Regions from separate parts of the Homo sapiens genome. Here regions 1, 3, 4 and 5 are each linked to region 2. The links are contacts of gene promoters, found by promoter capture Hi-C in blood cells and fetal thymus (Javierre and others, 2016). All regions are on one chromosome and are shown on one strand. Each heading gives the region's core, a stretch centred on a gene start or on the middle of the fragment in contact. The rest is flanking DNA. Distances are from core to core; before and after follow the strand shown. Region 1 overlaps UFL1-AS1 (UFL1 antisense RNA 1). Region 2 holds the start of KLHL32 (kelch like family member 32). Region 3 overlaps FHL5 (four and a half LIM domains 5). Region 4 overlaps UFL1 (UFM1 specific ligase 1). Region 5 has its middle 4.0 kb from the start of FHL5.

The links. The method cuts DNA at HindIII sites, captures the fragments that hold promoters and counts their contacts. A CHiCAGO score of 5 or more calls a contact.
Region 1: a fragment that was not itself captured here is called in contact with the fragment with the promoter of KLHL32 in region 2 in 2 of 17 cell types (naive CD8 T cells and total CD4 T cells); the score reaches 5.6 in naive CD8 T cells.
Region 3: a fragment that was not itself captured here is called in contact with the fragment with the promoter of KLHL32 in region 2 in 1 of 17 cell types (total B cells); the score reaches 7.4 in total B cells.
Region 4: a fragment that was not itself captured here is called in contact with the fragment with the promoter of KLHL32 in region 2 in 9 of 17 cell types (non-activated CD4 T cells, total CD4 T cells, total B cells and 6 more); the score reaches 10.6 in non-activated CD4 T cells.
Region 5: a contact is called between a fragment that was not itself captured here and the fragment with the promoter of KLHL32 in region 2, in 9 of 17 cell types (naive CD4 T cells, fetal thymus, total CD4 T cells and 6 more). The highest score is 10.0, in naive CD4 T cells.

The regions. Positions count from the first base shown.
Region 1 is chr6:96,489,065-96,493,242 of GRCh38, reverse strand. The region is part of intron 1 of UFL1-AS1 (UFL1 antisense RNA 1); the gene reads left to right. Among named protein-coding and RNA genes, the nearest start is that of UFL1-AS1, 31 kb to the left of the region's middle. The HindIII fragment of the contact is 5,668 bases long and covers 1-4,178 here.
Region 2 is chr6:96,923,376-96,927,014 of GRCh38, reverse strand. It overlaps KLHL32 (kelch like family member 32), which reads right to left and starts at 2,287. Exons shown (of 11, transcript NM_052904.4): 1 at 1,989-2,287. RefSeq lists a silencer at 2,251-2,560. The HindIII fragment of the contact is 7,655 bases long and covers 207-3,639 here.
Region 3 is chr6:96,592,938-96,596,850 of GRCh38, reverse strand. The region is part of intron 1 of FHL5 (four and a half LIM domains 5); the gene reads right to left. Among named protein-coding and RNA genes, the nearest start is that of FHL5, 32 kb to the right of the region's middle. The HindIII fragment of the contact is 1,631 bases long and covers 1,621-3,251 here.
Region 4 is chr6:96,541,127-96,545,141 of GRCh38, reverse strand. It overlaps UFL1 (UFM1 specific ligase 1), which reads right to left. Exons shown (of 19, transcript NM_015323.5): 12 at 2,126-2,248. Among named protein-coding and RNA genes, the nearest start is that of FHL5, 20 kb to the left of the region's middle. The HindIII fragment of the contact is 2,973 bases long and covers 1,171-4,015 here.
Region 5 is chr6:96,557,133-96,561,194 of GRCh38, reverse strand. No RefSeq gene overlaps it. Among named protein-coding and RNA genes, the nearest start is that of FHL5, 4.0 kb to the left of the region's middle. The HindIII fragment of the contact is 6,486 bases long and covers 1-4,062 here.

The DNA of each region.
Region 1 (4,178 bases), core at 1,160-3,659, 430 kb after region 2:
GAATAAACATTAGCTGTCAAAAAATTCATTTAAATGGATAAACACTGAGCAAATGAACTCTTCCTGGATTTTTTACTTATTACCTGATTAAATTGATTGGCAAAAAATTTAAATTGTTTTTCTTTTTCTCTAAATCTATATGTCAAAGTAAGAAACCCAAAACAATCAACCTTGTAACTCTTTTAAGCAAAATATTCAGAAATTGTTTAGGTGCCAGGCATGTTGAATTTGAGATCCTGACAGCCAAAGAGCAAGTGCATATATGCATTTTAAGTAGTTTCCTATATCATTATTTCAATGCCACTGCAATCATTCACTGTGTTAGGTGCTCCAATCATTTATTGATCTTCTGGTAACTAGCATAGCAGCTGCAACAAAAGCCCTACCATGTTTCTGTCTAGAATCTCTGCTGCCCCACAGCACCTGCTGTGTACCCCTCACGGGGAGTTTATAAAGAACATTAGATAACATAGAGGCTTGTTTAGCTTAGTGCTGCATTTAGTTTTGGTATTGAGGAGTTCATAGGTTGCCAATACTTTCGTTTTGTTATTTTATTATTGTTATTTTTATTATTGTTTATTATTGTTATTTTATTATTGTGGTGTTTGTTTCAAAAGACTGAATGTTAGAATGAAGTATATTTTAGGCCTGACTAAAATGTTATCAGGGCCAGGAAATTTGGTGAGATTTCTTTCAACAAAAATCTCTTAGGCTCATAGTGCAACTCAATTCTAGGAAGCTCAAGAAAGCTACTAGTTTCAACTCATCCAGTTGCCAGATGCTAATCTCTTGATAGCATGCTGCTTCAGCATTCATTCATCTATCGCTTGCTTTGGTTTCTGCCTTAGAAAAAGACAGGACCGAATGCAGAGAAACTGAAAATCAAACAAACATACTCTCTGAGAATATAGTTAAAGGAAATAAGGTTTTTATTTATGAATGCGGCAAAGGTTACTGTTTCTTACAAAATGATAGTGACATAAAATAAAAACAATGACTCTGAAAAGAATGCAAAATAAGCATCTCAGTGTTTAAACTTGCATCATAAATCCCATGGGTTTTATTTTATAGGAAACGCTTAGGTCCTGATTCAGAGCCTACTCACTGTGTTTTATATAAAATTCCTACATGCTTAATTATTTACTTTCTGAGCTTACAGATGGTATATGGAGTGTGTATATCTAGGTAATCCTGAGAAAACCACTAGACTGTAAACTCCATGAGAGCAGAGACCAGATTTATTTTATTTGATTTTGGATTTCCAGTGTTTAGCACATTCCTGCTGTATAGCAGCTGGACAAGAAAAATTTAACAAAGAAATGAATGATAATTAATTGGAAGTAATCAGGGAATCTAGACCTGTCTTAATGAAACAGATGTGAGATATATCCTCTGAAGCCTAAAAAATCAAAGTGGTGATGCTAACAGTGTTGCCTTTTAGAGATAGTTGGAATGGAAAAATATTTATTTTTTTCCGAGGTCTGCCAGTTCTGTCTTGAATGACCTAAACCATGAAATTTATACCTCAGAATATTGGCAACTATTTAGATCAAACGAAACTCAACCATCTTCAAAAAAGTGACCTTTCAGAGAAAGTTGCTGTTCTTTTATTGACTTCTTAAATCAAACTTATTTTTAATGTGTCCCACATGTTTAAAACATAGTCTGCATCAAACTTAACTCTAAATTATGATGCATCTGAACCTAAATATTGTCTCAACTAAAAATTTTTAATCAAAATAACAGTGCACTTACTGGCTTAATTCAACATGGGGGAGCTGATGTTTCTGAACCCTGGAGGCTAATCCTATGATAGCAATAGTCCTTGAGTAGTGTAGATTCTTTTGCTTCTATTTTTGAAGAAAGGTAATGAATATAAAGGTAATGAATATAAAGGAATATAAACATCAGAGTTCTACTTCATTAAAATGTGGTTTAAAATGAGGTGAAAACTGTCAGAATATTCTTATTATCATGTGTTATGAACAGAGTATGCCAGGGAATAATTTATTCATCTAGAATGAGCGTGCTAACTGTAAAACCCTTTGGTTAAAAGCACAGACTCTGAAGCAGACTAAAGTGCTTAAATCTTGGCTGTGTCACTTACCAGCTATATGACCTTGGTAATACTTCATCTTTTTGGGCCTCGGATTTCTCATTTGTGAAATGATGGTAATAATATTACCTATTTAACAGGCTTGTTGTGAAGATTCAATGAGTTAATATGAAGTTCATAGAAAGTGCCTGGAATAGTGGCCGGGTGTGGTGGCTCACACCTGTAATCCCAGCACTTTGGGAGGCCGAGGCAGATGGATCACGAGGTCAGGAGATCTAGACCATCCTGGCTAACACAGTGAAACTCTGTCTCTACTAAAAATACAAAAAATTAGCTGGGCATGGTGGCAGGCGCCTGTAGTCCAGCTACTTGGGAGGCTGAGGCAGGAGAATGGTGTGAATCCGTGAGGCAGAGGTTGCAGTGAGCCGAGATTGCACCACTGCACTCCACCCTGGGCGACAGAGCAAGACTCCATCTCAAAAAAAAAAAAAAAATAAAAATAAAAGTGCCTGGAATATAAGTGCTAAATAAGTGTTTGGTCACTCATTGTTTCTCATAAAGTGACACAAAACTTTAATCATTCTTTGGAGAAAGTTATGTGAAAAGGAAGAGCAGCATGCAGTCATAACATTAATTCCATCAATTCCTTGGCTGTATCTCTGTGCAATTAGGCAATCGTTTTATTGCTAGTGCTATTCCAAGGTTATTTCACTTCAGTGGGCCTAGGAAGGCTTTAATGCTGACTTCTTTCCCATCATGAGCAGAGTAATGGGTCCTTTGGATACCAAACCCCTTGGTGTAGCTTACTTGGCTTAAATTAATGTGCTCTGTTCAACCAGTCACACCTTCCTTACCCCCAGGATCCCACAGCGTCTCTCATTCTTGCCACCACCAAAGCAGCCTGCCAGCTTGTACTTGCCCCTCGAAGTTCCCAGGCAAGAGTCAGAGAAAGGTTCCCTGTGTCCTCCTAACTCCATGGTATGGATCAGACACTTACATGTGCAGATCCTCTTTCTCCCTTGGCTCACAGCACCCTGGCAACTCTCACCAAATAAATCCTCCTTCCAAATCCTTTCTCCAGTCTTATTGTTTACTCCTTATTACTTGCCATGTGGGTTTTAGGGTTGTCTAACTAGTTCTCAACAATACCACTTGGAAAATGTGTAAGTACTACTGGATGTTGTCCCTTAATTCATTTTAATATCTGATGTTCACATACCTTGGTGTCTCAGTTAAAATTTCTTATTTTCTTATAGAAGCAATAGCCTGGTTCTATAAAGACATTAATGATATTTTTTAAATAAAGTTTTAATCCAGACTTTCTGTTCCTGCAGATTCCTTTTGTGCAGTGTGTGTTTTTCTCTGCTCTTTATCCTTCTTCCTGCACCCTTTTTTTCAAGAGTCTGGTGGTCCTCGACTGCCCTCATTTCAGACAGAGGAACTGCACACTGACTGGAAACTCTGTCTGCATGTGTTGATTGGACTGTACACTGTGGCCTCTCTGCAGGGCAATCTAGCTGGCATTTCCACTGTGGAACACTAGCAAAAATGAATGTGTTAGGTCTTTCATCCAGGGATGATTATGCCAAGAAAAGAATCCTCCAATTTCCTGCTTTTGAAGTATGGGTGGTAGATAGGATCTGGATTGTCAGTTTTCTAAGCCAAAGTGAAGGAGACAGGGGTTTCACCATTCATAATGTAGACTTTGCTGATTCTCCTGTTTCAAGTATTGCATCTCACTCTTGCCCTCAGCCGTGATGTTATCTGTAAGTCTCGAACCTCTGTGGGCCAGATCTTTGGATTCTCCTGGTTCTGTCTGTCTTGTACCAGTATACAGTGGATCTGTGTGTGTGATGAGTGAGGAAGGGGATAAGAGACTTTCATCCAGTCTTCCTGTGAACAGCGTCATTTATACCTTCACTAACAGAGATACTTGACCCTCCAATTCCTAAGCCTTTCTGCAGGTCTGCAAACTTTGTTTGCCAGATAAGGTTGCTATTTATCCTGGTAACTGAAGACAAAGGGCATATACTCTTGGGAGTTCTGGAACAGGTGTTGGTTTCCATGACTGAGAGACCCATAGATGGTTCACATCACAGGACTCTGTGCAGACAACCCCCAG
Region 2 (3,639 bases), core at 1,038-3,537:
TAAAAAACTGATCACTCACAATGATGGATGTATTTTTTCACATCAGTATTTTGTTAGAGAATACTAACTTATAATTGAGTGAGACATCAGTAATTATGGGTTGCTAACTAGCAGGCCACAGGCTAGATATGACCCAGATACAATTTTTAATGTGGTCCTTACAGTTTTTAAAATTAAGGATACCTCATAAAAAAAATCCAGAAGCTTCTGTTTTCCTTAAAAAACTGTCATGTTTTAGAGCCTGGACAGTAACAATCGGCTACAGTGGAGTGGGAGCTGCCTCCTTTACAGTGGTTTGCAAGTTCCAGAGGCCACAGTTCACACTCCACTCCCTACCCTCTCTCCCACGTGTCTTGTCTAGGCCTGCTCCACTCCTTTATCTCACTTGTCAGATCCCTGCACACATCTGAAACGCACACACAACTTTTTTTTAAAGGCAAGGAGACTGGATCCAGAAAGGGCTTCCCCATTCACTAGCTGTGACCTTCAGCAAGGTTTGAGTCTTGGGTTCCTCAGCTTTAAATGGAAGGTAATTTATTGGCCTCAAAGGGTTGTTGTGAGGATTAAAAAAGAAGTATATGAAAAGTGCTTTCTACACTGTAATGTAAAATGTTTGTCATCATTCATCTCCCAAAGCTCTGTGAATTGCATAAATCCCCTCTATCTACCTCTGTCATTATTTGGCTTACTTGCTCCTCACATTATTTATTACACTCTCTATGACAGAGTTTAAAATCTAAATTAGAAGAATTTGACTTATTTCCTTGGGTCATTTAACAAGAAGTAGAAAAGATGAACAAATATCCAAGGAAAACAAAATTAATTCTTGAATGCCAGTGGATCTTTACTGGGCCATTTGTTTGTGATGGAGGCATGAAATTCGTGCAAAGTGTAATTACTGGATTGCTGATGCCTTCAAGTACTGTGTTACAAGTTCACCCAATAGACACCCGAGACCTCAAAATAAAACAAAACTGACAGCCCAGGTATTAGGCTGACCTGTTCCATTGGCCTATCAGTGTTCCAGTAGAGGACCCAGTCCCATCAGAAAAAAAACAAAAAGCAAAAACCACTGCACTTTCATATAAGCTCTAGTAAGCCATGGCACACATTTTATATCTATCTCTATCTGTGTATAGAGATAGATCTAAAAATAATCAATAAGAGATTTTTTAAAAAACAGAATCTTCTCAGAAATGAGCAGAGGTGCAAAAAACTGCGCTTCAATACTGATGCAGGGGATATAAAAATGCTAGCAAAGATGTATGTCATGAATGCTACCTTCTTACGTTACGAATTCACAAACGTATTCCTGTTCTGGTCAATTTACAATAGAAGCTCATTCTTGTGTGGGGAAACACAATTAAATCATCTGCTTTTAATTTAAAATAATCACGACTAAGTGAACTGCAAAATAAAACTGGAAATAGAGGGGAAGAAGGGATCTAAACTGCAGTCATCTTTCTTTATAAGATCACCAAAATGGGAGTAAATTATGATTCAAGACACAATCCGTTGAAAAATTCATCTGACGAATCCTTTTTAAAGCATACCATATAGTGCAATTACGGCTTTTCTTGAAGTTGAATGAAACCGCCACCTGAATACAGATTAACAAATGCCAAATTACGAAAGGTCCTCAGTGTATATTTTATTTTAAATATCAAAATAAATAACGGCATCATTTAAGAAACCAGTTCTTTCAATAGATGTCCCACGGCTGATGTTTAAGCAAGTCTCCTTGGCAACCAAGGAGCACAGTACATATTGGGCTCAGGGGGAGGGAAGAAAGGGGGAGCGACTCCAGGGCTGGCAGCATAAGTAACCTGAGTAGTGGCTGCTCCCGTTAGACGACACGGGCAGAGGCTGCATGGGCTGCAAGCCCCTGAAATGTCAACTCCGGGTCTGCCCCCACTTGGCGCACCAGCAGCCTCCCACCCTCTTCCTCAGGTCTGCAGAACAGGTTACAAGGAGAGAGACTGGCTTACCCGATGGGGTGAGCGGTCTGCTGGGTTAGGTGCCAGAGACGGCAGCGCAGGCACCGGCCTCTCCTTGATGCACAATGGCTCTGCTTCGCCCCACGATGCTGAGGTTAACAGAACCCGCAGTAGCTTCGCTCTGCTGGTTCGGGGATGCAGTAGCGAAGACGAGCGTCCTAGCGTGTTTGTGTGTGCGAAAGTGTGTGTGTGTGTGTGTGTGTGTGTGTGTGTGTGCCTGCGTGCGTGTGTGCGCGCGACTGCCTGCGCGCTCCCGAACTGTCGCGCGGGGAAACTGCTCCCTAGTAAATAAAAAGCCCTAGCCAGCACTGCAGGTGGCACGTCCCGCTGACTCCGCCCCAGGCGGTCGCGTCAGACTGGAGACGCACCTTGGCACCCCCGGGGCGGGTTCAGACGCCACAGGGCTCCGCCCCCTCCCGCCTCCAGCTAGCCCGCGCGCTCCCTCCCCCTCCCCCGCGATCCCGCGCACATCCTTTCGCCACCCCGCGCGCAACGCCACCGCCCGCCGCCAGCGCGCTCGCTCCCCTGCCGCCCCCCGCCCCCGCCCCCGCCGTCGGCGAGCTGCCAGCGCGCGCCCGCCGGTCCCGGAAGTACCCTCCTCCACGCCGCCCTCCTCCTCGCTCTCCGGCACCTGCGTCGCCGGCCCCTGGGTCACATGCGCAGTCTGTAGCCACCACTGCGGCGACTGAGACCCGGGAACCCAGCCTGCTCGCCCCCAGACTCCTTTCCCAGGGCTGGCGGGCAATCTGAGCAAACAGACCCCGTGGCCCTAACTCGGTGTTCCAGGGAGTCCTTGCTCTGCTAACTTGTGAAGTTCAAGTTGCCTCTAGTCCTAGCGGCCCTACAGTGGCCCTCCTTAGGATAATACACTCTATGGTACTGACCAGAACAAATTCACAGTAACTTTAAGAAACGTCAGGGGAACCAACCCGCCAGAGGTGGACGAAATCCCCAAGCCTGAGAAATGAGAAAGGGTGTGATTACTGTGGTTACTACTAATTCAGCAATAAAACCGCAAACAGACAACAACCACAGAACCATACCATTAAATTCCAGGGCCTGGCACACTCAAGTGCCACTTCCGAGTCATTCAGGTCACTCCTGTGTAAAACATGCTGAGAAACTCACACTAAAGCAAAGTGGGTAATTTTAATAGGTAAGTATTCCACCACCGAATTGAAAACCTTAGTCCAACGTGGAGGTAAGACACCAGAAGCAGGAAGAGTGTAACTAAATTGGAGTAAACTGTATTTTGTAGAAGTTCAGGATTTAACTTACTGCAAAGATAGTATGTTAATCCTATTTCTTGCAGGTTTATGTTCTGCCACAGAGTTGGGCTAGGAACAGTGCCCTGATCTATTTTGAGGTGTCCTTAATGTTCTCATTGGTCTCAAATCAGTGGTTCAGCGATTATTTTCTACTTCTAGATCCACAGGATTTGGGGGTTTATTCGTTTGCTCCCTCTGGAGGTTATCTGTCTGGCTTGTAGTGCTTCATTTTCATGGTTTTGATATCTGGACGCTAGGATGCTGGGTACCTACTTATCTAGCAGTCCTGGACACAGCATAGGACAAGGGAAAGAATGACAAACAACTGACTACAAACATTAGGTGCAGTGTCATCCTAAGAATTTTTCATAAGC
Region 3 (3,913 bases), core at 1,187-3,686, 330 kb after region 2:
TAGTTGGAAGACAAGATTAACTCAGGTTTAGTTATATTGAATTTGAGGAACTAAACTAGATAGCCATCAAGCTGTATGTTCAAAATACTAGGCATCAAAATGTCATGTTAGATTAAGAAGTTTAGACTATTTTCCTGGATGAGCTAATTGGTAGTTGAGGAGCTACAATGGTAACTGAAGTTATGAGACTGAATGAGACCATCAAAGAAACCCTAGTGTAGAAAAGTGAAAAAAAAAGATAAAATACAAACTCACGGATAAATGCATGTTATGTGATGGGAAAGAGATGAAGCAGATATCGTGAAGGTCACAGTGTTTTCAAAGACAAAAGAAATGAGAACTACAAGAAGAGAATATATATTAATAACAATTAAGGAAAGTGTCAACAAGAAGGTAAATGATGTCTTCAAAAGAATAGTTTGGAGACACTAAATTGTCTGATGTCAGATTTCAGAGTTAAAATGTGAGTGACAAGATGCTCATTGCTGACAGCTTAGAAAATTGCATGTTCAAAAACACACGCCTAAGGAATAAAAAACGAACAAAATAAAATGTGTTGCCGAACTGGCAAGAAAGTAAGGGAAAATCTCAGAGGCTAAAACTAAAAAGAAAGCAGGAAACTAGAAAGGTTAACACTCTCTAAAGGAGCCATTTGTCCTGAGGATGTCTTCTGAGCCATGATGACCTTGTTATCCAAGTATTTACAGCCTGAACTTATACTAACTGTAAGGTCTAAAACTCTTAGGTTTTAGTTTAAAAGGCTTAGTTTAAAATGAAACACAAGAAAATCCTCTATGAAAGAATGTCCCATCATCCTAGGCCTAAAAAAAATCATACATATAAATTTTCATTGAGCATGAATTCACAATTAAAATATTTAAAATAAGAATAAGCAATGAAAACAAGCAGTATAAGTAAAAATCCAGCAAAGAAAATACTTGGATCACCAACAAAACAATTTCACATGAGAAATAACAGATACAAAATGGAAAATAATGTTTAACATATTTAAAGACATAACAGAGAGCATTATATAGAAAAATTCAGGAGAATAAAAATGACTAGGCAGATTTGCAACAGAACTGATAGAAATAAAAGAGATAAAAACTTATCATTAAAATTAAAACAGATTAAAATGCAGATTAGAATCAGTTGAAGGGAAAATTAATAAACTTGGAAATAGAACTAAAGATATACTATAAAATACAATGAAGAAAGAAAAAGAGATAGAAAATATATCAGTTAAAAAGAAAGTAGAAGATAGAGTAAAAGAATTTGACCTAAGTCTTTACAGAATTTCAAAAGAAGATAATAGAGAAAATGAGAAATATGCAAAGGTTGGAGATAGAATTGAATTTCCAAGAATTAATGACATTAATATACAGATGCAGAAAGTAAAACAAATTTCAGGCATCATAAAAACAAACACATCATAGTAAAGATGTCATATTCCAGAGACAAAGATGATCTTAAAGACATTCAAAGAGAAAAAAAAATGTCTAAAACACCAACAATTAGATATGCAGATAACTTCTAAACAGCAACAATAGAAACCAGAAGAAACTGAAATAATGCTAAGAGAAAATAAGTAAACTCTAGACCTGTATACTCAGTGAAGCTTAATTTAAAGAATAGGATGACATAAAAACATATTTAAGTTGACAAAAGCTATGTTTACTACCAAAAAACCTTCACTGAAGGGAATTCTAAAGAATGTGGTTTGAAAAAAAAGAAAGAAAAAAAGGAAACTCTCTAACGGAAGGTTTAGGAAAACTGAAGACAAAAAGAAAGAATAAGGAGCAAAGACCTCGACTAACATGCAGTTACACAAAAATAAACATTGACTGTATGAAAAAACAATAATAATTTGTGGGGTTCAAAAACACATAATAATACTAATGTACTGGGGAAAATAGCATTTAAGTGAGGAAAGAGTTGATTGTTAATCCTTGTATTGCTGGAAAAGAATACATTAACTGAATTACATTAAGATTAAGCATTCTCATGTTAAAATTTTAATAATAAGTCATTAGATTTGTTAAATTTTAATGGAAAACTCTAAACATAGAAATAGAAATAAGTAAAACAAAATTATTTCATAGAAAGTACGTAGGAAAAAGAAAACTAGAAAACTGAGACATCACAAAAGAAGAAGATATATGATACATTTTAAACCCAAATCAAACCAAATGAGTGGTTAAACTTTCTTGGTTGAAAACCAAAATATTCCAAAGATGATCCAAAAGTAACTGTCAACATCTGCAACCAATCTGAGTTCAAATCCCAACAAATTCTTGTCAGCTTCAACCAAAGATTAGATGAAAGGGAAATATAGTTTTCTTTAATACTATTTGAACCCAGAGGTCGGCCTAATTTAATATTTTTGTTAACTGTAACTCAGCACAACACTTGACAGAAACTAAAAGTTCTGCCCCTTGACCTAGCCATGTGACAAGAAAGGAGTGCATCCTCTGGGGGTAAAACAAAATGAAACAAAAATTGTACATGTGTATTTTGTTCCAATGTTTGGCAGGCAAAAAATTATAAGACACCTCAAGAAGTAAATACATACATACATATATATATATATATATATATATATATATATATATATATATATATAAATTCTAATATTTATTGGATCCTTTTCCAGTTCTTTCATTTTTCTGCTGAAATCATTTATACATTCACTCATTCTGTTCATTTCCTTCCAAATATTTAACATAAGTATAATAAAGTCCCTGTGGGGGCTTATGTTTAAAAATATTTGTAATAGAGAATTCAATGGATAAGATTATCAGCAGACTGAAAAAAGCAAAAGTAAAAATCAGCAACCTTGAAATGAAACAAACTAATGCATAAAGAGAAAATTCACTAAATGAAGATAATAGAAATAATTTTTCCCCAAAATAAAATTGTTGAAAGACTTCCAGTCCAATAATGGTACTCTGTATAATTCAAACCATGAGGCTGCTGTGAACCACTAGAGAAGCTAGTACTTAAAAAGTGTACTTAAAAAGTGTAGCTTGGAGGCATCAGAGAATTAATATTACAGTGAAGAATAGGCAAAGTCCAAAGGAAGGAGAAAAGCGTAGATGAGCTTGGTATTTGCTTTCCACAGAAGAATATGTACATCCAAAAAGATAAAATGAATAGTCTGAGAAGCTGTATGGCACTTCTGACAGCCTAGAAAGGCTAAGGGGACAAAGATTGAGGTCAATGGACCTTCCATGTAGCAGGCCTGGTAAGCTTATCATTGTGTAGGTGATATTTCCAAAGAGCTATGCCCTTGGAGTAACGTAAATTAGAAGTAAACTAGTATTTCAGAGATGGAAGCCCAGCTTTGAATTACCTCAGTTTCTAAAATTATATTAAGATAACCTTGGAATTCTGGTATCCCTAGGTGAACACCAGAATAAATACACATCCTGTCTGAAGGAAGAAAACATCATCTTAGGCCTCAATTACTTCTACACCAATGTCTAGCACTAAACAAAAATGACCATGTTCAGAAGAAGACAAGGGAATATAAAGAATAGAAACATACATGCAGGAAGCCATAGATTTTGGAGTTATAAGACAGAACATAAAACTATCCTTAATATGTTCAAGGGGGTAAATAAAATAAGGAGCAAAAATTTTGCAGAGAATTAAAAACAATGAAAAAGAATGAAATGTAAATTATAGTACAGAAATATACAATGATTTAAATTAGGGACATAATGGGAAATTTTAGAAAAGATTGTATGAAATGAAAAAGATGATAAAATAGAAAATAAAATTAAGCATGATGATAAAAGGTATAAAAAGTACAATTAAGAAAGTAAGAAACATAGATGATAGAATGAGAATGAGAAAAGAGAAAAATATACAAGTTGTATTTGAAGAAACAATGGCCCATCTTCCAAAACTG
Region 4 (4,015 bases), core at 1,408-3,907, 380 kb after region 2:
ACAGACAGTACTATTATCTTCTGGGATCTGCTGTCCATTCCTAATGTTCACATTAAATGATCTATGATTTCCCTGTTTACTTCCTTTATGCATTTTCAAAGTTATTAAATTATATTTTCTTCTAGTAATCTTTCATACTGAGTTGATCCTATATTTTAGCTGAGAACCCAATTTCATCCTCTATTTCAGAGATTACAACATAAATTTTTTTTCAAAAGCATTGAAATTATATTTTTAAAGGTAGAATGGTTTTACTACTTTTATAGCTCCTTTCAATAATAATCTATTCACAAAAGGAATATCACATGCCTCATTTAACCATTATTTAAGATTACAGATATTAGAGAAGTGTTTTCTTGTAATGCCTCTTCACCCACATGCCTAGTACACCTGGGCAACAGGAAAATCCATTTACCAGTGAAAAATTAAAATTCACAATGGATAGTCTTAATCCTATTTGAAATAAGGATAAAGCTAGTAGTTCCTATAAAGATACTTTTCCTTTAATTAACGTTGTTTTACATACATGAAGAACAGTAGTTATTTCTACCTATCTCAGAATACTTTAAAGACAAATCTTAAACAACTGTGCTATTACAAATAGCAAGTAGAACATTAATAGCTGCAGGCACATCACTTGATATCTACATCTTCCAGCTATAGCCCGTATGTAATGAATTCTGTGAAAGAGGAAAAATATAAATCTCAATCTATTATCATTTAAAGTTTTTTTTTTTAATTTTCATTTTGCTGGGGATAAGGAAGAGGGCAGTATCATGGTTTCATTAAGTTTACCTTTTTTAAACAGAAAAATTAAAAATATCATAATTTTAATTAGAAAAACAAAAGATGTCTCTTGTAGACTTTCTTGGCCAAGCACTAGCAAGTCTAGGAAAAGAAAGATGCATATAATTAATGCTCTCTCTTAGATATAAGCAACCAACCAGTTAGGTGTTACTATGAAAGTAAAATGTACATAAAATTAATGTTTCCTATTTAAATTTGCAAGTCTACTTTTCAAAAATATCCTAATACTTGTTTTGCATGGCAGTGGAAGACCATAAAAATGATCATGGTAAGGTGAAACCATGCAAAGCTTTCTTAATAATCAATAGGAAAAATTACAATTGTTCTGTGGCCTTTAAAAATTTTTGGTAAACATTAAAAGCTTTTACTGTTGGTTATAAATGTATAGGAAAATGAAAAATAAAACTAATGTTTATAATTTAATATGCTGTATTTTTAACACATTAGAACATGGAGAATGAAAGTGTTTTATTTCTGTGTAAAATACTTATCAGGAATAGTCTGAACAGTGCTTGCTTTCTTCTTATTATCAATTAACTTGCAGTATGGACCAAGTACCTTTCCTATGCCTTATAAATTGTCATACCACTTTCTAACTCTGAATCAGCTTCCAATGTTTTATCCCTTGCCTTTTCAATGTCTTGGAATATCTCCAAGAATTGTGAAGTTTTTCCCCACTTTACATCCTCTAAGATGTTTTCATCCTTTTTGTCATAACCACTTTCCTCATTTTCTTGAGCAATGGCAGTGTCAACATTCCCACAGTCAGCCATTCCCTCTATAACTCCATTTATGCTTGATTCCAATTTTATTTTCAGTGTTATCACTTTTCATTTCTTTGCTACGCTTTTATCTTTGTTGGCCAATTCTCTTTTTGATTATCCATTTCTGTAAAATATCATAGCGTTTATCACTGGGAGACAATTAGGCAATACAGCTACATGCTTTGTTGTTTGTGCATAAGGAATAACCAATGTGCAGTGACCAATCATTGACAAACTATACAATAAGTGGTGTGATTGTCACAGATCATGATATGCATCTGTTATTTATGTACTGATTTGTGGACTGAAGAGCTACTTTATACTATACTCAGTTAATATACCGAAGTATCTTTGTATCTAATATTTAAGATAAACAGTGTTGTTACTGGACTGATAACATTTAACTAAAGTGTGGTAACTGAAATTTGTGTCACTGAAACACTGCAAAATAAGGACTTCCTGTATTAGCATATATACCTAATTATATACATCTTAAGAAAATATGTTACAAATATCACACATACACCAAGGAAAAGTAAAGAAAAGCTACCTACCAGTGTGGGATGATTGAGATTCATCATCACTATCATCATCTTTTCTTCCTTTCTTCTTGACTTTTTTAATTTTGTACTCTCTGGCATTGCCCCCACCTCCTCCTCTCATGCTTCCACTGCCCTCTGGTGGGAAAATGACATTAGTTAGCATTACCTAACTAAATCATCATTTTTATAAAATAATGACACTATATTGTTGTATTTAACTTTACAGCAGAAAAAATAAAGGCAAAATAAAGAAACTTTTAGACTCTTTTTAAATTTGGAGTTCCCTATTAAAAGTTTAGTAAATCCAATACATAAAAAATTAATAATAAAATATGAAATCTTTTGAGCAATCTACCTTAGATAGCCTGACTGCTCTAAATGCATTCTCTTTCTCCTTCTCTAACGTCACCTCTTTCCTGTAACTCTCAATATTTTCTTAACAAAAATCCATTCCTTCACCTCCTCTTCTACCTTCCCCAAAAGAAATGTGTCCTCCTTTGCTCATCTGTGTTACCACAGCCTCATCAATAACCTTCTATTATAAGACTTCACAAATTTAATTATTCTTATTTTGCCTTCTTTGTTGAAAGATTATTACCTGTTTTTAGAGGAGATATCCTGACTCATCTGCTACTCAAACAGATTATAAACTTCTGAAGAGCAAGGATCATTGTGTCATTAATGTATATATTCTTTACAGAAATGCGTGAAACATAACACGTGCTTCATAAATGTTGACCATGAATATTAATTGGTTAAGTATAAAAGTATTATTACCTATTGACTATAGACTTAAAAAAACAAATTATGAAACAAATGCAAACACTGTAAATAAAAATAAAAAATACTACTTCAGCATTTCCCTGCTCTTTGATATTGACATGTAAAATATCTACTCTACAAAATGGAATACTGATAACGGGTTTAAACCATTGAACATATTACAACTATATTATATTACTTCAAAATAAGTAAAAGATTAGTCTTTTTAATAAAATAAAGTGATTACTAAAGATCTTTTTCTAAATTCTAAATAGATTTGCCTTAGATTTCATCACATCCTAGATTTAAACTTCTATTATTTTTCCCTTTCTTTTATAATAAAAAAATTCTATTTTCAAAAATATAAGTCTAAAGTGAACATGCTTTTTATATTTGACAATAAGTTTCCTATGGGGGGGAACATTCATGATTGACATGATTCCACACACTGTAATTAAACAATTATAATACAATAGCATTATCACTGAAAATAAAACACCAAATGACCCTTAACTTTTAATAAGAAATAAAATATTAAATAGACTAGTTATACTGACATAAGTCATCAATTGAGTAAGGCAAATTTATAACTATATCTTCAAATATATGATAAAATATCCATAGCTATGAATATTACTGTGATTTAAGTAATTTATTAATTTTCCTGGAAGAATAGAGAAATTTCATAATGCCATTGAAAAGTTTTAAGAAAAAGATTCTGGAAGAGGAAATAAACTATCTCAAAGAATTAGAAGTGTATTTATTAATGAAAAATGTTGAATATTGAATTTCTTCAGTTCCGATAAAGCACTAACAGCACTGTTCCTACTATAAAAACTATGGAAATACATGTTACTTTTCCATTGCAAATTACAAGCATATCAGTGATACCTAGAATAATTTCTAGTGACTTTAGATTAGAAAAAGAAATGTAAAAATATGTCCTTCAGAAATTTTTTCATTTAATTAGTATGTTTATAGGACACCTAAAATATATCAAGTGGTGCTTTGGGTATGTAGCAAGAGTACAACAATAAATGAGATCAACACAGTTCCCAAACAATAAAACACATCATGGTGATAAAGTGATGCAAATAAACTGACAAAATGAGGTGGCAGAGAGTGACTGTGGCTACTATT
Region 5 (4,062 bases), core at 1,410-3,909, 370 kb after region 2:
TCACCCCTGCATTCCATGTCTCACATGTCTCACTCAGATTATTCTGTCAGCCATAAAATAACTGGCATCTGCCTCAGCCTGATCCCTTTCTATCCTTCTCTATAGAAAAATATTATTTTTAAATAAGTTTGTTAAATTATAAAATACATGCTTCTTGCAGATAATCTGGAACAGAAACTGGAAAACATATACAGAAAATGTAAAATGTAAAATGATTTGCAATCCAAGACAGCCCAGACCAAATCTTTGTGTACCTCTTTAGGCTTTGTATCATTCATATATTAATGATACAGAGAAATGCTAAAATTTTTTGTAAATATATTGCATAACATAGTTATGCAGTATATTTAGTTAGAAAACCAAGACCACATTGTATATACTTGTAGAAAGTGCGAGATATTTTTCTTTTCCATTACTAGGTTTATGGTTGAGGCCCCTATAAAAAAAGGCAAATTAATAAAAGTATACAAATTATTTAATGTAAGTTTTTATGGGACATGGGAGCCTTTCAGAAATGAAGACTCAAAGCAAGAGATAAACGTGTGTATTTTTATGCTTAGATTTGATGAAGAGTGGATAGTCATGGAAAAGTATGACTGGACAAAGGGGATATAGTCTAATGATTATACACTCGGGGGAACTTAGCAAGGCCTGTTTGTTTAGACTCTTCTTTGTGTTCCTTTCTTCCAGGCATAGGGAGGTCTCTTGAATGAGGGTCTTATGACCTGCCTCGGGAGAGAAGGGTAAAGGGAAGGTGGGAATGATCTTCCTGCTTCTGGAGTTTTCTCAAACACCAAGGTGCCATATTTTAGCGTAGTGCATCCTGAACCCCATTATAAATCTGTATCCTTGTTTTCACTTAATATACTGTAATTTTCCAAGCCAATAAAATATTTTTTATTTTATTATTATACTTTAAGTTCTGGGGTACATGTGCACAACATACAGGTTTGTTACATATGTATACATGTGCCATGTTGGTTTGCTGCACCCATCAACTCATCATTTACATTAGATATTTCTCCTAATACTATCCCTCCCCCAGCCCCTCACCCTACAACAGGCCCCGGTGCGTGGTGTTCCCCTCCCTGTGTCCATGTGTTCTCATTGTTCAACTCCCATTTATCAGTAAGAACATGTGGTGTTTGGTTTTCTCTTCTTGTGTTACTTTGCTGAGAATGATGGTTTCCAGCTTCATCCATGTCCCTGCAAAGGACACAAACTCATCCTTTTTTATGGCTGCATAGTATTCCATGGTGTAGATGTGCCACATTTTCTTTATCCAGTCATTCACTGATGGACAAGCCAATAAAATATTTTTAAAGTGGCTATAACAAATAGTTGCTATGTAATAAAATACATAATGGAATAGCTCTCCTTTTTTTTCTCTCTTTTTTCAACACCAAAAGATACACTCAGCATTTAAAACATACAAATCACAGGACTGAGATTAAGACTGAAAAGAGGAAAGGAGAAAAATCTAGAACATTGACTTTAAGTACATTTACATTTATTAGGTTGTATTTAAACAACAATATGTTCTATGTGTCAAGTCTTCAAGTTCTTACCCAACTCTGAAGTCTGTATGATAGAATTAGGTTAAGGACTGCATTTTAGATGAGTAAAGACAGGCTCAGTAGTAAAACAGTTTGACAAAGCACTTTTACTTCTTTACATTGAGTAACACAAAACATGAGACAACCTTTGAGACTTTTGTCTTAGGTTGACTAGTCAGATCGCAGTTTTTCTTTGGCAGACTAGTATCTGAATAGACTATTTCAGAGCCAAGATTGGCCTGTTTCTGTGCAAGAGAAGGTGTCCATGTTCCTCTCTACTAGAGGCTGGGAAAAAAGACTCGTATACATTTTTTAGTCATTTTAATTCTCAGAAAAGGAAGACATTAATTTCACGAATAATATGTACATTTTAAAGAATTTTGGTAAATTGCCAAATTGCTTTCCAGAATGTAATTTTTTTAGAAGACAAATGTAATTACTTAATTTCCCTGGTTAGTTGAATCTTTTAAAGGCTTCCATGTTTTTGAGATAGTGGTTGAACTTTGTAGCTTAGTGTTTAAGGCATTTCAAAACCCCCCTATTCTCTCTACTTTATCTTACACTACTTCCCCAGATCAGTTATTATATTTCTCAGACTTCTTGGCTCCCCACATCTCATTATTTCATTCTAATTAGCGTCATAGTACTTCTGTACCTCCTTTTCTCTGCCTTAATATGCTCTCCTTCCCTTCTCTCATTTTCACCAAGGCTAATCCTTCTTTTTTTCTCTCTGGACTCTTGGTTCAGGTGTTATTTCCAGCCTCCCCATTGTGCAACACAGTCTAAATTTCATTTCTTGTCACAACACCCTCTGTGTACTTTTACCAAGACACTATATTTAACTGTAATTATTGACTTGTTATTTCTTTGAAAGTAAAACATACCTTTAAAGTTGATATGTGCCTTCCTAGTATTTAGCTGTCATACACGATCGAGTAAATTAGGCCAAGTCCATAAATTCACCATGTTCTCCCTTTCCTCCATTTCACCATCAATGTAATCCTGTCTTTCCTGCTCCTTAAAACAAACACCCAGATTGTCTTACTACTAATCACTTCAGAGAAATAGAGATGCAACTAGGGGCAAGTTTGATAAAACAAATAATACAACACTGGGAACTTATAAACATTGAATACATGTTTACAGTGGTTATTCCTTCTTTTTTATGATGTAAGTGTAATACAAATTGTTTTTCTGAAAGCCTGAAAGTCAGTTTCATTCTTAGAAGGTTTGAAAGAAGCCTCTCCTGGATCTATTTATTCTGTTGTACGCTTAGTAGGGTCCTCAAGATAGAGCAACTTGTGTGAATTTGCAGGTCATTTAAATAGCCACTTGAACAGTGCTCCCAGATTTGTGTGGAAAATGTACATCCCAGGGGAGTTTTGTGTGTGCATTTATTACATCTCCCATGTATTGGGGGAAATTCTTCATTGGTCTTAGTGAAAGAAAGTAAATCTTCCATCCTCTTACTCCCTCCCAACTCACATCAGTTACTTCTTGATAGAAAAAATCCCATTTGTTTCTGTGAAATGGTTTGGCTGTGCCTCCACCCAAATCTCATCTTGAATTGTAACTCCCATATTTCCCATGTGTCATGGGAGGAACCTGGTGGGAGGTGATTGAAATGTGGGGGCAGGTCTTTTCTGTGCTGTTCCTGTGATAGTGAATGAGTCTCAGGAGATCTGATGGTTTTAAAAAGGGGCGTTTCCCTGCACAAATTCTCTTGTCCACCGCCATGTGAGATGCGCTTTTCACCTTCTGCCATGATTGTGAGGCCTCCCGAGCCATGTGGAACTGTAAGTCCAATAAACCTCTTTCTTTTGTAAATTGCCCAGTCTTGAGTATGTCTTTATCAGCAGCATGAAAATGGTAAATTAGTACCAGTAGAGTTGGGTGCAGCTGAAAAGATACCTGAAAATGTGGAAGTGACTTTGGAACTGGGTAGCAGGCAGAGGTTGGAAGAGTTTGGAGGGCTCAGAAGAAGACAGGAAAATGTGGGCAAGTTTGAAACTTCCTAGAGACTTGAATAGCTTTGCCCAAAATGCTGAGAGCAATATGGACAATAAAGTCCAGGTTGAGGTGATCTCAGATGGAGATGAGGAACTTGTTGGGAACTGGAGCAAAGGTGACTCTCGTTATGTTTTAGCAAAGAAACTGGTGGCATCTCTCCCCTGCCCTAGAGATCTGTGGAACTTTGAACTTGAGAGAGATGATTTAGGGTATCTGGTGGAAGAAATTTCTAAGCAGCAAAGCATTCAAGGTGACTTGGGTGCTATTAAAGACATTCAGTTTTATAAGGGAAGCAGAGCATAAAGGTTTGGAAAATTTGCAGCCTGACAATGTGATAGAAAAGAAAAACCCATTTTCTGAGGAGAAATTCAAGCCAGCTGCAGAAACTTGCATAAGTAACAGGGAACCAAATGTTAAATCACCAAGACAATGGGGGAAAATGTCTCCATGGCGTATCAGAGATCTTCACGGCAGCCTCTCCCATCACAGGCCCAGA